Regions from separate parts of the Homo sapiens genome. Here region 1 is linked to region 2. Evidence: promoter capture Hi-C in human tissues and cell types (Jung and others, 2019). All regions are on one chromosome and are shown on one strand. The core of a region is centred on a gene start or on the middle of the fragment in contact, and the rest is flanking DNA. Distances in the headings are between cores, read along the strand shown.

Evidence for each region. The method cuts DNA at HindIII sites, captures the fragments that hold promoters and counts their contacts. A contact is called where the count stands out against the background at its distance.
Region 1: a contact is called between the fragment with the promoter of CBX6 here and the fragment with the promoter of PICK1 in region 2, in 2 of the 25 tissues and cell types used here (hippocampus and lymphoblastoid cells).

Annotation. Positions count from the first base shown.
Region 1 is chr22:38,870,956-38,877,324 of GRCh38, reverse strand. It overlaps CBX6 (chromobox 6), which reads left to right and starts at 5,109. Exons shown (of 5, transcript NM_014292.5): 1 at 5,109-5,203; 2 at 5,380-5,423; 3 at 5,568-5,633; 4 at 5,779-5,845. The coding sequence starts at 5,135. RefSeq lists enhancers at 2,771-2,950, 2,767-3,966, 3,803-4,352, 4,353-4,903 and silencers at 4,898-5,157, 5,188-5,337, 5,438-5,487. The HindIII fragment of the contact is 23,948 bases long and covers 2,055-6,369 here.
Region 2 is chr22:38,055,205-38,061,585 of GRCh38, reverse strand. PICK1 (protein interacting with PRKCA 1) reads right to left here and starts at 4,182. Exons shown (of 13, transcript NM_012407.4): 1 at 3,999-4,182; 2 at 3,736-3,833; 3 at 2,241-2,352. The coding sequence starts at 3,776. RefSeq lists enhancers at 3,481-4,104, 4,349-4,408, 4,105-4,730. The HindIII fragment of the contact is 14,484 bases long and covers 2,633-6,381 here.

The DNA of each region.
Region 1 (6,369 bases), core at 3,860-6,359, 810 kb before region 2:
ACTCCAGATGTACACATCAAGCCTTGGCCTTGTCTCTGACCGTGGCCACACCAGTTACCCTATACAAGAGCAGGAAAGAGAACCATCCAAAGTGCCCGTCAAACACAGAATCATGAGAGATAATAGATTCTTGTGTTTTAAGCTACTAAATTTTTGTTTGCTGTACTACAGGTTTTTTTGGTGAAAGGAAGGTAAGTCTCAGGACCCCCAAATCACTAAGCCAAAAAGAAAGTTGTTGGCCGGGTGCGGTGGCTCACATCTGTAATCCCAGCACTTTGGGAGGCCGAGGCGGGCAGATCACGAGGTCAGAAGATCGAGACCATCCTGGCTAACACAGTGAAACCCCGTCTCTACTAAAAATACAAAAAATTAGCCGAGTGTGGTGGTGGGCACCTGTAGTCCCAGCTACTCGGGAGGCTGAGGCAGGAGAATGGCATGAACCCAGGAGACAGAGCTTGCAGTGAGCCGAGATCGCGCCACTGCACTCCAGCCGGGGCGACAGAGCGAGACTCCATTTCAAAAAAAGAAAAGAAAAAAAAAAGAAAGACAGTTGTTGCCTTTTTTGGGGTTGAAATTTGAACCCAAAAAATCACTAAGTCAAGCTGGGGACTGCATCAGGCAAACTTGGCTCCCATTTTTTCCCCAAATAAGATAGTTACAAAGATTAAAAAACTACATATCTCCTTCAGAGTTTGCCCCCAAGGAATTTCCATGTGGGCCTCAGCATCTTTACCCTAAAACAGTTCTGTTGAATTTCACCTTGGCAATGTAAATTGATAGTTTATCTTAACAGATGCGGGACAAGGACAGAACTCAAAGTCATCCCTCTTCCCACCCGAGACAAATGCATATCTGATTGCTTCCTCCGCCTGTTGCTTATGTAAAAATGCAGATTCACTGAGACAGACTGAGGCATAAGTGACTCTTCCTCTACCCTCCTCACATGTAAATTGTGTACTCAGTGAAAGGCTGATCAGAATCAAAATAATACAACCTTTTGTCTCTTATCTACCTACCACCTGGAAGCCCCCACTTCGAGTTGCCCCACCTTTCCAGACTGAACCAATGTACATCTTAAATGTACTGATTGATGTCTCATATCTCCCTAAAATGTATAAAACCAAGCTATACCCCTATCACTTTGGGTACAAGTCATCAGGACCTCCTGAGGCTATGTCACGGGCACGTCCTTAACCTTGGCAAAATAAACTTTCTACATTGATTGAGACTTGTCTCAGATAGTTTTGGTTCACAATTTCATAGGAAACTGATTTGCCCTCTGTCTGGGCAACAACTCACACAGGCTAAGAGATCAATTTTTTTCCTTTGTGATGTTACACCAAACCTCAGAACTATAGACTGTCAGAGGTGGAGGGGATTTTTTTCTCATAGAATAGAGACTATCTTCTCCAGGTGCTCATAAACAAGGGAAAAGCATGTGAGAAGTCCATAAATCTCTCCAAAATTTTGGAATGACTTGGAAATAACAGATTTTCAAAAGAGTCACCTGCAGCTTGTCGCAGTGGCTCACGCCTGTAATCCCAGCACTTTGAGAGGCCAAGGCGGGCGGATCACGAGGTCAGGAGTTTGAGACCAGCCTGGCCAACATAGTGAAACCCCGTCTCTACTAAAAATACAAAAATTAGCCTGGCAAGGTGGCGCGCCTATAGTCCCAGCTACTCAGGAGGCCAAGGCAGGAGAATCACTTGAACCTGGGAGGCGGAGGTTGTAGTGAGCCAAGATCACGCCACTGCACTCCAGCCTGGGCAACAAAGGGAGACTCCACCTCAAAAAAAAAAAAAAAAAAAGTCACCTGCCAAAAAATATAGAGCATGAAAAAGGGCCAGTTCCTCCCCCATTTTTGAAGTTGAAAAACTAAGATCCAGAGAGTAGAAAAGGACTTGTACAACATCACACGATTACCAAAAGAAAAGGGATCCAAGCCTGGCTGCCCGAATTCCCACTTCATCTCATCACATCCCTCCTCTACTCAAAACTCCCTCACGCTTCCCACTGCCTGAGACAAAGTCCAAACCTACCCAGCATTCAAGGCCCTTCCCAAGTTCAGTCCAACCCATCTTTCCATTGCCATCCTTTGCCGTACTGCCCCAACCCATGCCATAGCAGACTTCTTTCCCATCCCCAAAACACACTCTCAGGCTCTGATGTGCTTGTTCAAGTTGACACCTCCACCCGGGACACCCTTCCCATTCTTCACTTGTAGGCCAATTCCCATTTGTCTTTCCGGCCCCAAATCAGAGGTCTCCACCTCTGAGAAGCCCTCACAGCCTCACCTCCACGTGGTAGGTTGCTCCCCTATGTCCACTCCCAAGACATCCTGTACAGACTCTTGTGGCAGGCTTATAATGCCTCCCCGAAAGATGTCCGTGTCCTAGCCCCTAGCCCCCAGAACCTGTGGATAGGATACCTTACTTACCATCCATGTTACCCTATGGTAAGAGGGTCTTTGCAAATCTGATTAAGTTGAGGTTGAGACGGAAAGATCATTCTCAATTATTTGGGCAGACCCAATGTAATCACAAGTGTTGTTAAAAGAAAGAGGCAGAAGCCAGGTGCGGTGGCTCACGCCTGTAATCCCAGTACTTTGGGAGGCTGAGGCGGGTGGATTACTTGAGGTCAGGAGTTCGAGACCAGCCTGGCTAACATGGTGAAACCCCCATCTCTACTAAATACAAAAATTAGCCGGGTGTGGTGACGCATGCCTGTAATCCCAGCTACTTGGGAGGCTGAGACTGGGAGAATTGTTTGAAACCGGGAGGCAGAGGTTGCAGTGAGCCGAGATTGTGCCACTGCACTCCCACCTGGGTGACTGAGCAAGACTCCATCTCAAAAACAAAAACAAAAGAAAGAAAGAAGCAGGAAGTGAGCAAAGGGATCGTGGAAACAGAGATTTGAGTGATGAAGCCATGAGCCAAGAAATGCCAGCAACATTTGGAAGCTGGATGAGGCACGGAACAGATACTCTCCTTGACCCTCCAAAAAGGGACCAGCCCTGAGGATACCTTCACTTGGGCCCAGTAACACTGATTTGGGACTTCCCGCCTCCAGAGTCATCAGATAACAAATGTGAGTCATTTTAAGCCACTGAGCTTGTGTTAATTTGTGAGAGCAGCAACACGAAACTCCTACACCTTTATTCTAGCATTAGTCACACTGTGTGACAGGTGCCGTTCTCACTCCACTGACAGCTCCTCAGCCTGGGGCACCTTTGTTTCCTGATGGTTTCACACAAAGCCTGGTGCTTCACAAGGGCTCACAAACACTGCTGAATGAATCAACAAGTGGACTCACCTGCTTCATCCCCCGCCTGTCTCCGTCAGCCTGAACACACACACACTGTCATACCCACTCCTCTCACCTGCTCACCCACCACCACCCACATCTCCCAGGAGGACATTTCTATTTTTACCACAGCAGCTCACCTTGGGCTGGCCAGCAAATAGCTGTTTCCCTGGAACATACTGATTTTAAGTGAGGAGAGGGATTTCTCTCAAGGTAATAATTGGACAAATCTGCTGGGAGAAAAAGACTAACATTTTGCTATGGTGGATTTGAAACCCAAGAATTGGCATTGTAGCACAGAAACGCAAAAATCTTTCCTAATGAGCCATTGATGTTCGCAAGACACAACCCTGACTCTTCACAATCCCCATTCCTCCCCACCCCATCTCAGCCCCAAGGTGGTCACTGGAAGGATGGTGAAATCTGTATTTAATGACACTGAAAGATGTCCACTTTATAGCATTAAGGGAGAAAAGCAGATTCCAGAACAGTGTGAATAGCGTGATCCCATTTTGTTAAAAAATTAAATCTACAGACAATGTGTATGTGTATGTATATACATACATACATAGGTGTACGTGAGTTTATGTACGCATAGAGCAGAGGCTGGAAGATTGGTGAAGATGTTAACAATGGTTTTATGGGGGTTATGGACAGTTGTTTTATCTGTATTTTTAAAATTGTTTTACAAAGAACAAGACTACTAACATAATGGGAAATAAAGTTCAAGTAATTTCAACATTTAAAAAGTGGAGCGTTTTGCGCGGCAGGGCTATTTTTTGTGTGTCCGTTCCTGGACAGCCCCAGCTCGATCCCCCGCCCCTCCTCAAGTGGGAAGCTGGGATCTGGGCTCCCCAGAGCAATGGCGGAAGCTTCGCGCAGCTGCGGGCGGGGAGAGGGACGCGGCCAGGTCGGGGGGCCGGGAGGGGTGCTGGGAATCGGAAAACACAGATATGACCGCGAAGGCGGTTTCTGCCGAATGACCAGATGATGACCCGCTGTGGGCCCAAGGCGGAGTGCGGGGAGCCCGTTCCTGCCCGCGGTCCCTCTCCCTCCCCCACTGCCACACCGGCCCCGCCGAATCCTCCCCGGTCTCCTGGGCGAGGACAGGTGCCGCCCGAGACCCCGGCCGCAGACAGATGCCCACGGTCACTCCGGCCTTCCTCGGCCCCATTCGCCGCACACCCCCTTCCTGCGGTGGCGTTTTTGTTTTAACTCTTCTGAACTGGTTACAAAACCACCCTCCCACGAATACATAAATAATGGGTGGGGGGCGATGTTTTAAAGAAATTCCCGCAAGGCCTGGCAAGGCAACAGCAACTGCATTTCTGCTGCATCATATTTAACTGTTTGCAGGCTGCTGCGGGAGATGCGCGGTGGCGGCGAGACTCGGGCTCCACAGCCCTTCTCCGCCCGGGGCCTGGCGAGACTCGCGTGGGGATTAAGAGGCAAGGAGAGGGTGTCAGCGATCGGGCGCCGGCAAGATGTGAGGGGGGGTGATAAGCGTAAGGCCGCAGCGTGCCCACAAGCCGGGCACCCATCGGGTCGGCCGGCAATTGCTCCCTCCGCCCGCGCGGCCCCTTTAAGAGCCAGCGCGCGCCCCCGCCCCGCGAGCGCCGACTTTCCCTAGCAACCGCCCCGGGGGAGGGGGAGGTCCTGGCAACCGCGCGCCAGCCGCGAGGATCACGTGACGGCCCGCAGCTGGAACGCGAGCGCGCGCCCCGCCGCGCTCCCGCCCGCCGGGGCCTGGGCGCTGCGGCGCGTGCGCGAGCGGTGCCGCACCGGCCGCGGGCGCAGGGAGTATTATGGGCTGTGGGTGCCGCTGAGCAAGATGGAGCTGTCTGCAGTGGGCGAGCGGGTCTTCGCGGCCGAATCCATCATCAAACGGCGGATCCGAAAGGTGAGCCGCCGCCCGGGGCGGGCCGCCGCTGTCCGCAGCCGGGGCCGGGGCCGGGGGCCCTCGGGGCGAAGCGGTCCCGCTAGCCCGGCTCCCTCGCCCAGCCCCGCGCCGCCGCCTCCTCGCGTCCCCGCATCCTCCCCACCCCCACCCCCGTTTTTCTCCCCTCTGTTTTTCAGGGACGCATCGAGTACCTGGTGAAATGGAAGGGGTGGGCGATCAAGTGAGTGTCGCGGGGTCCGGGGGCGTCGCGGGAGGGGAGGCAGCGGGCACCGGGGCCTGGGGTGGGGGTGCGCGCTCTTGCTCTCGCCGCGTGCCTGTCCCTCTCTGGTCTTCATCCTGATTTTGTGCGTTTGTGACTCGGCAGGTACAGCACTTGGGAGCCCGAGGAGAACATCCTGGACTCGCGGCTCATTGCAGCCTTCGAACAAAAGTGAGTTGTTGGGGAAGCTGGCAGGGGCTGCGAGGCCGAGGCTCGGCTGGGGCGCCGCGCGGGGAAGCGGGAGAGCCGGGGAGGGCAGCGCGGAGTGGGGCCCGGGAAGGGGCTCTTTTTAACCTCTGGTGTTTTTCGGCCGCAGGGAGAGGGAGCGTGAGCTGTATGGGCCCAAGAAGAGGGGACCCAAACCCAAAACTTTCCTCCTGAAGGTAACCTGGCCCAGCCCCAGCAGCATCCCCCTCTCGGGCCCCCAGCCCCGGCACAGCACGGGGCCTGGAAGGGAGGGACAGATACGCGGCCGCCCAAGCGGGCCGGCCTTTTCAGAGGGGCCCCAGCTGGGCAGGGGGTGGTTGTGAGCCCCCCCAGAAGCCCCTGATGGCAGGCCTCAGCCAGCATCAGCTTCAACAAGAGGGTTTTGGGACTGGGGATAATCCTCCCTGTTGAAACCAGGGGCTGGGGATGCCTTTAGGGCTCCAGGAAAGGGGGTGGCTGAGGCAGGTGGGGGATGCCCATGGGAAGGGGGCATTTGTTTGAGCTGTTATGACTGTGCTGGGAGTTGGAACCCAGGGGGAGAGTGAGTGGGGTCCCACCTCCTGGCAGGGCACAAGGAGAGGATTTGGGGGACCACCTGCCTCCCTGCCCCCAGCTTCCCCCGTTCAGTCTTTCAGGATTTGTTCTTCATGGCTCCCCTCCTTTCTTGGGGATCCAACTTGAATTTGACCTCAAATCATTT
Region 2 (6,381 bases), core at 2,933-5,432:
GCTTGCACCACTGCACTCCAGCCTGGGCGACAGAGTGAGACTATTGAGAAAAATGGAAGCCCATGCATGAAGAGACAGAGAAAGCCGGGTGAGGTGCCCAGGGGAAGGGCAGTGGATTGCTATTATTTGATACAGGGCTTTTAATGCTCTTGACTTGGTAGAGGCAAGTCATATGGCACTTTGATAAAAACAAAATTGAATTTAAAAAAATCAATTCTATGATGATGATGATTATTATTATTTTTGAGACGGAGTCTCACTCAACTGCCCAGGCTGGAGTGCAATGGCACGATCTCGGCTTACTGCAACCACCATCTCCCGGGTTCAAGCGATTCTCCTGTCTCAGCCTCCCAAGTAGCTGGGATTACAGGAACCCGCCATCATGCCTGGCTAATTTTTGTATTTTAGTAGAGACAGGGTTTCACCATGTTGGCCAAGCTTGTCTGGAAGTTTTCACCTCAGGTGATCTGCCCACCTCAGCCTCCCAAAGTGCTGGGATTACAGGTGTGAGCCACCGCACCCGGCCAGTTCTATTATTTTATTGGCTGGTGGTTCATGCCTGTAATCCTAGCACTTTGGGAGGCTGAGGTGGGTGGATCGCTTGAGGCCAGGAGTTCGAGACCAGGCCGGCCAACATAGCTAAAACCTCTCTCTCCTACAAATACGAAAATTAGCTGGGCATGATGGCGCACACCTGTAATACCAGCTACTCGGGAGGCTGAGGCATGAGAATCGTTTGAATCCAGGAGGCAGAGGTTGCAGTGAGCTGAGATCACGCCACTGCACTCCAGCCTGGGCAACACAGTGAGACTCTGTCTCAAAAAAAAAAAAAAATCAATTATACTATTTTATGATGTCTGTTCATTCTAAGCAAACTTGCACCTGAGGTAGGTAGAGGGAGGTGGCGAGAGGCTGAGCAGACACACGGCCAGGAGGCCAGGCCTGGGGGAGGTCTTGCTAATGCCTCCTGGGTCACAGGAGGCCGAATGGCTCATGAAGGAGGCAGCACTGTGAGCAGAAGCAAGACCAGGTCGATCCTGGGAATCTGTCTTCGAGGCCTACAAGCGACTCCTGAGCAAGATCCTCACAGAGGCCAGTTTCCCATCTGCCACCAGTGAGAGGGTTAGAACAGGTATTCCCAAGGCTACAGCAAGGTCACTGACTTGGATGAGCCACACAGTGAAGGAGGCCCCACAGCAGGCCTGTCACCACTCCTGAGTTACAGTGGACAGAATATCACCAGTGCAGCTTCCTCTGCAAGAGACACAAGAGTGTTCCTCACCACTGGCAGAGCATCTGGGAAAATGTACAGCTACCTGGAAAATAGCAGCAGCTACTGCTTAATGCATGGTTCTTTCTTTTTTTTGAAACAGGGTCTCACTCGGTCACCCAGGCTGGAATGCACGGAATGCAGTGGCGTGATCTCAGCTCACTGCAACCTCTACTTTCCAGGTTCAAGCGATTCTCCTACTTCAGCCTCCCAAGTAGCTGGAAGTACAGGCGTGCACCACCACGCCCAGCTAATTTTTGTATTTTAGTAGAGACGGGGTTTCACCATGTTGGCCAGGCTGGTCTCGAACTCCTGACCTCGTGATCCACCCACCTCGGCCTCCCAAAGTGCTGGGATTACAGGTGTGAGCCACTATGCCTGGCCAATGCACGTTTCTTAACTTCTAGTGTGTTAGGTCGTTTTGTTGACTTCTCACAAGAACCCAGAGATGATTGTGTCTACATGTTTTAAATCCCCGCTTTCTAGGTGATGAAACTGAGGCCCAAAGAGGTTAAGTAACTTGCTAGTAAGTAGGAAAGAAGCTTGCATTTGAACTCAGGCCATTATTTCATCGTGTTCCTATGACACTTCATTTTGGCTAGTACGCAAGGCTGATGGTTTTGTTGATTCAATAGTCAATTTCTATTGCATGTCCACTATGTGCCAGGCACTGTACCTGGTGCTTACTGCAGTGAAAAAGCAAACCAGGACACTGCCCTCAGTGCAAAGAGTCTACTCTACTAGACAGAGGGCAAATAACAAGTAATAAGTGCCGAGAAGGAAAAAAACAGAGCGACACAGGGGAGAAGACAGGGCAGAGCAACGCAGCGCAGGTGGTCAGAAAGCCCCTCTGAGAGGGTCAGACCTCAAGAATGAGAAGGAGTCAGCTATGCAGTGTGGAGAAATGAACCTGCCTTTGTCATGCCCAAGTAGGGATGTACCTTGTGCCCCCCTCCAAAGCGCCCAATACCTGGACGATATAGAGGCAGGGACAGTACTGGGCCCCTCCTCCAATGCTGATCCCGATCAGGTTCTGAGCATCCTTCTGCAGGGTCACCTTCCCAGGCACAGTCGGGATTCCGCTAGAAAGGAAAGCAAGCTAGGCTGACTCTCCTGGCAGAAGGATGACTGGAGCGGGTGGGCCCTCTAAAACTCCTGAGGGGCTCCACTGGCTGCCCAGCTTTTTCTCTCCCTCCCTTGGACAAAACAACATTTTGTGCTGGAACATGCACAGCTCTTGGAGTTAAGCAGATGTGGGATCAAACCCCAGCTCTGCCATTTATCAGCTGTGGAACTTGGTTTTTTTTTGAGATGGAGTCTTACTCTTGTTGCCCAGGCTAGAGTGCAATGGCGCAATCTCGGCTCACTGCAACCTCCGCCTCCCGGGTTCAAGTGATTCTCCTGCCTCAGTCGCCCAAGTAGCTGGGACTACAGGTGCCTGCCACCACGCCTGGCTGATTTTTTTGTATTTTTAGTAGAGACGGGGTTTCACCATGTTGGCCAGGCTGGTCTTGAACTCCTGACCTCAGTTGATCCGCCTGCCTCAGCCTCCCAAAGTGCTGGGATTACAGGCGTGAGCCACCGTGCCTGGCCAGCTATGGGACTTGGGTAAGTCAGCCTCTGTGCATCTCAATTTCCTCATCCATAAAATGTGGATGAGCACCCTTATCAGAGTTCTTCTAACCATGCATGGAGGGCACTAACAGCAACCCAGTCCATAGCAGGCACTCCATAAAAATAGGTCCCCCTTCCCTTTCATTTATTCGATCTCTGAGATTTGAGCCAGGTTCTGTCCTTGTCACCTTATCAGGCATCTATGTAGTATGATGGCCACCTACTCCAGGGAGTCTTCCTCTATTAAACTGTCCACCTCCCACCTCTCAACTGCTCGATTACCTCTCGGTTTCCACTATAAATTAGCATTGACTGGTGTTTTATGATAAGTACTCACGCTGATTCACTTATTCATTCAAAAAACATTCGCTAACAACCTACTGACGTCAAGTCCCTTACTAAGTGCTGAGCATAGAGAAAGGCATTGCACCCACTCCTTGATCTGAAAGAGGATATATTCTAATGGGAAAATCTGTCCTACTAACAACCTATGTTGGGAAGGAAGGGTGTCTACAATATTCCTATTCAACCTTCAAAACCTGGTTCAATTGCTACGTCCTCCATGAAGCTTTCCTTGACCATCCCAGCAGAAGCACTGCTCCATCTGCTTTGCTCTTCTTGTCACCAAGTCATGCTAATAGTGCCCTTATGGCACTGAGCTGTGATTATCCCTTTAACTGTCCACAGCCCCCTACAAATAGTGAGCTCCTGGGAGAGCAGGGTCCATTGCTGCTTCAGTACAACAACTGATCCACCGCTGAGAAGCAAGGGTCTGTGGGACTGGGAAGTCCAGGGAAATGAGGAACTTGGGGCTCCTATACTGCTGGAACTTGGGGGAATAAAATACTCACAGTTTATCCTCTTCGATGTCATAATCCAAGTCTGCAAACATGGTTCCGAGAGTTGGAGTGGGCTGGCTAACTGCCCAGCTCGGTAGGGGAATGGGGAACTGGATCCGGGAGAGAAAGGAGCATAGGATTTAAGGAACCCAAGTGCCTAAATGCCAACGCCACCCCTCCCTCCACCACCTCATACGGGACAGCAGTGCCCTCCTCTTCCCTCTGGAGTGGGATGGGACAGTCTCCGGGTGGGGGGCTGGGTAGGTGATTCTTACTAGGTACAAAGGGGGGCTCCAGGCCAGGGCGATAGGCTCAGATCCCAGAGTCCGCCCCACGGGTCTCCAGGCCCTGGGGAGCTGCCTCTGTCGCTCACCGGAAGCGTTGGTCCCACAGCCGGGTCCCGGCCAGGCTGGTACCTGAACCCACCTGCCGTTCCACCTGGCGGTGGCCGCGATTGTCACGTCACTTCCGGCAAGACGCGGAAGTCCCGGCTTTCCCCCCACTGGATATTTGCTCCAATCCCTGCAGACAATCCTTCCCTTCCCGGCTCCCGGGACGCTCGGAACCAAGAACGAGAACAAGTATTGGCGGAAGCTCGCTGTTAGTAGGAACAAGCGAAAACAGAGGAACGGTCTGGACAGGCTGACAGCGTCTAACCCCGCCCTTTGCCCTGCCGCCGCCGCCATCTTGGGAAGGGCAGGGTTTGTCCCAGCTTCCTCAGCTGCACTCAGGGGCCCGCGCCGGCCCGGCGGTTGCCATGGCAACGAAAGCATCCCTGAGCCGGGGTTACCTCCGGCGAGGCTCAGTGGACTATAAACCCCAAGACATCATGCCCTTTCACCCCTTCACCACCTGGGCCTGTGACTCCCCTACTAGAATGGCCCTTTGAGGTCCCAGCCCATCCCAGTTTCGCCAACTTAAGTGCCAAAGAGCGGGGAGTGATTTTGTGCGGGGCCACACACAGTTGGTGTAAGATCTGGATCGTGGCCCTGAAACTCCCGCCGCCTAGTCTAGGGATCTTTGAACGTCCAAACACTAAACAGAGAGCCAGGAGAGGTGTATTCAGTGGGTCTTGCTATTAAGGACAGACTGGACATGCTCCCTTCCCTTTATGTGCCTCAGTTTCCCCATATGTAAACCAAGGCCATTGAGGTAAATGCTTTCTATGGTATATGGTGAAAGGTTTCTCACACCCCCTCCTCCTTCCTTAGTCCTGAGGAGCAGCCCCCCTGGGGTCCCAGGGAGGGTCACGGTCCGCATGTACCTGAGGCTCGGGAAATGCTATCAGTGCTCCCCAGAGTCCGAATCTTGTCTCCTCGCCAGCCTCTGCTGCCACTGCTATTGTGTAAAGTGGGTTCCCTGGGGGAGGTTGGCTCTCCCAGAGCCACAGCCAGGCATCCACCTCATCCGGCAGCATGGGGCCAGGCCCATCCAGCTTGCTTCCCCAGCTGCCCCAGGAGCCATGGAAGAAAGATACAGAAGGATGATTATCCACATATCCCACGGCCGGTGGAAGCCCCGCCCTACTCTCTCCTTAGGTGGCTAATTGAGTCCGGACAGATGTGCAGAATGCCGTGACAATAACAGCCTTCCCACGTGTCCACTGCTCTCCTGTGAGATCACTTTCACAGGATTTGAAAGCTCACCACCACCCTGTGAGAGAAGACCAAATCTTGCCAGCCACATTGTGCAGGCAAGGAAACGGAGGCCCTGGGAAGCCTCTTCCTCTGGTATCATAGCGGCAGGGCTGGGGCTGGGAAAACCAAGCTCTGTTTCCAGGCCAGAATTTTGGTTTCAAAAAGCAGCAGTCTAAGGCCAGGTGCGGTGGCGCACACCTGTAATTCCAGCTATTTGGGAGCCTGAGGCAGGAGAATCGCTTGAAAATAGGAGAGGGAGGTTGTAGTGAGCCGAGATCAGGCCATTGCACTCCAGCCTGGGCGACAGAGAGAGACTCCGTTTCAAAAAAAAAAAAGGCAGCAGTCTCCAAACCCAGGTGCCTTAACATGGATTGTGGCTCTTCCAGCCCATGACCATGCTAGCTCAGGCCCAGGCTCTGCCATTTTGTAGCTGGGAGATCTTGGGTGAGTCGCTGTCTCACTCTGAGCCTCAGGTACGTGTAGAATGGGGAAATGACACCTGCCACCAGGTATTTGTGAAAGTCAAGATTAAAAGGAGAGGCTGGGCGCGGTGGCTCACGCCTGTAATCCCAGCACTTTGGGAGGCTGAGGAGTGTGGATCATGAGATCAGGAGTTGGTATAAGATCTAGATCATATATCTGGACCAGCCTGGCCAACATGGTGAAACCCCGTCTCTACTAAAAATGCAAAAATTAGCCAGGCATGGTGGTATGCACCTGTAATCCCAGCTACTCAGGAGACTGAGGCAGGAGAATCGCTTGGACCCGGGTGGCGGAGATTGCAGTGAACCGAGATCGCGCCATTGCATGCCAGCCTGGGTGACAGAGCCAGACTCCATCTCAGAAACAAAAGATTAAAAGGAGAAACAGGTGTGAGTGCTTTGTAAACAATTTGCATGGCACAGCTGTCACTCTGACCTCAAAACCCCCTACCCACTCTGGCCCTTCTTCTCAGGTTGGGGAAGATGCCCCTGTTTTCTGCCTTGTTCATCCCTTGCCTGCAGGCTCCGCTCTAATTCAC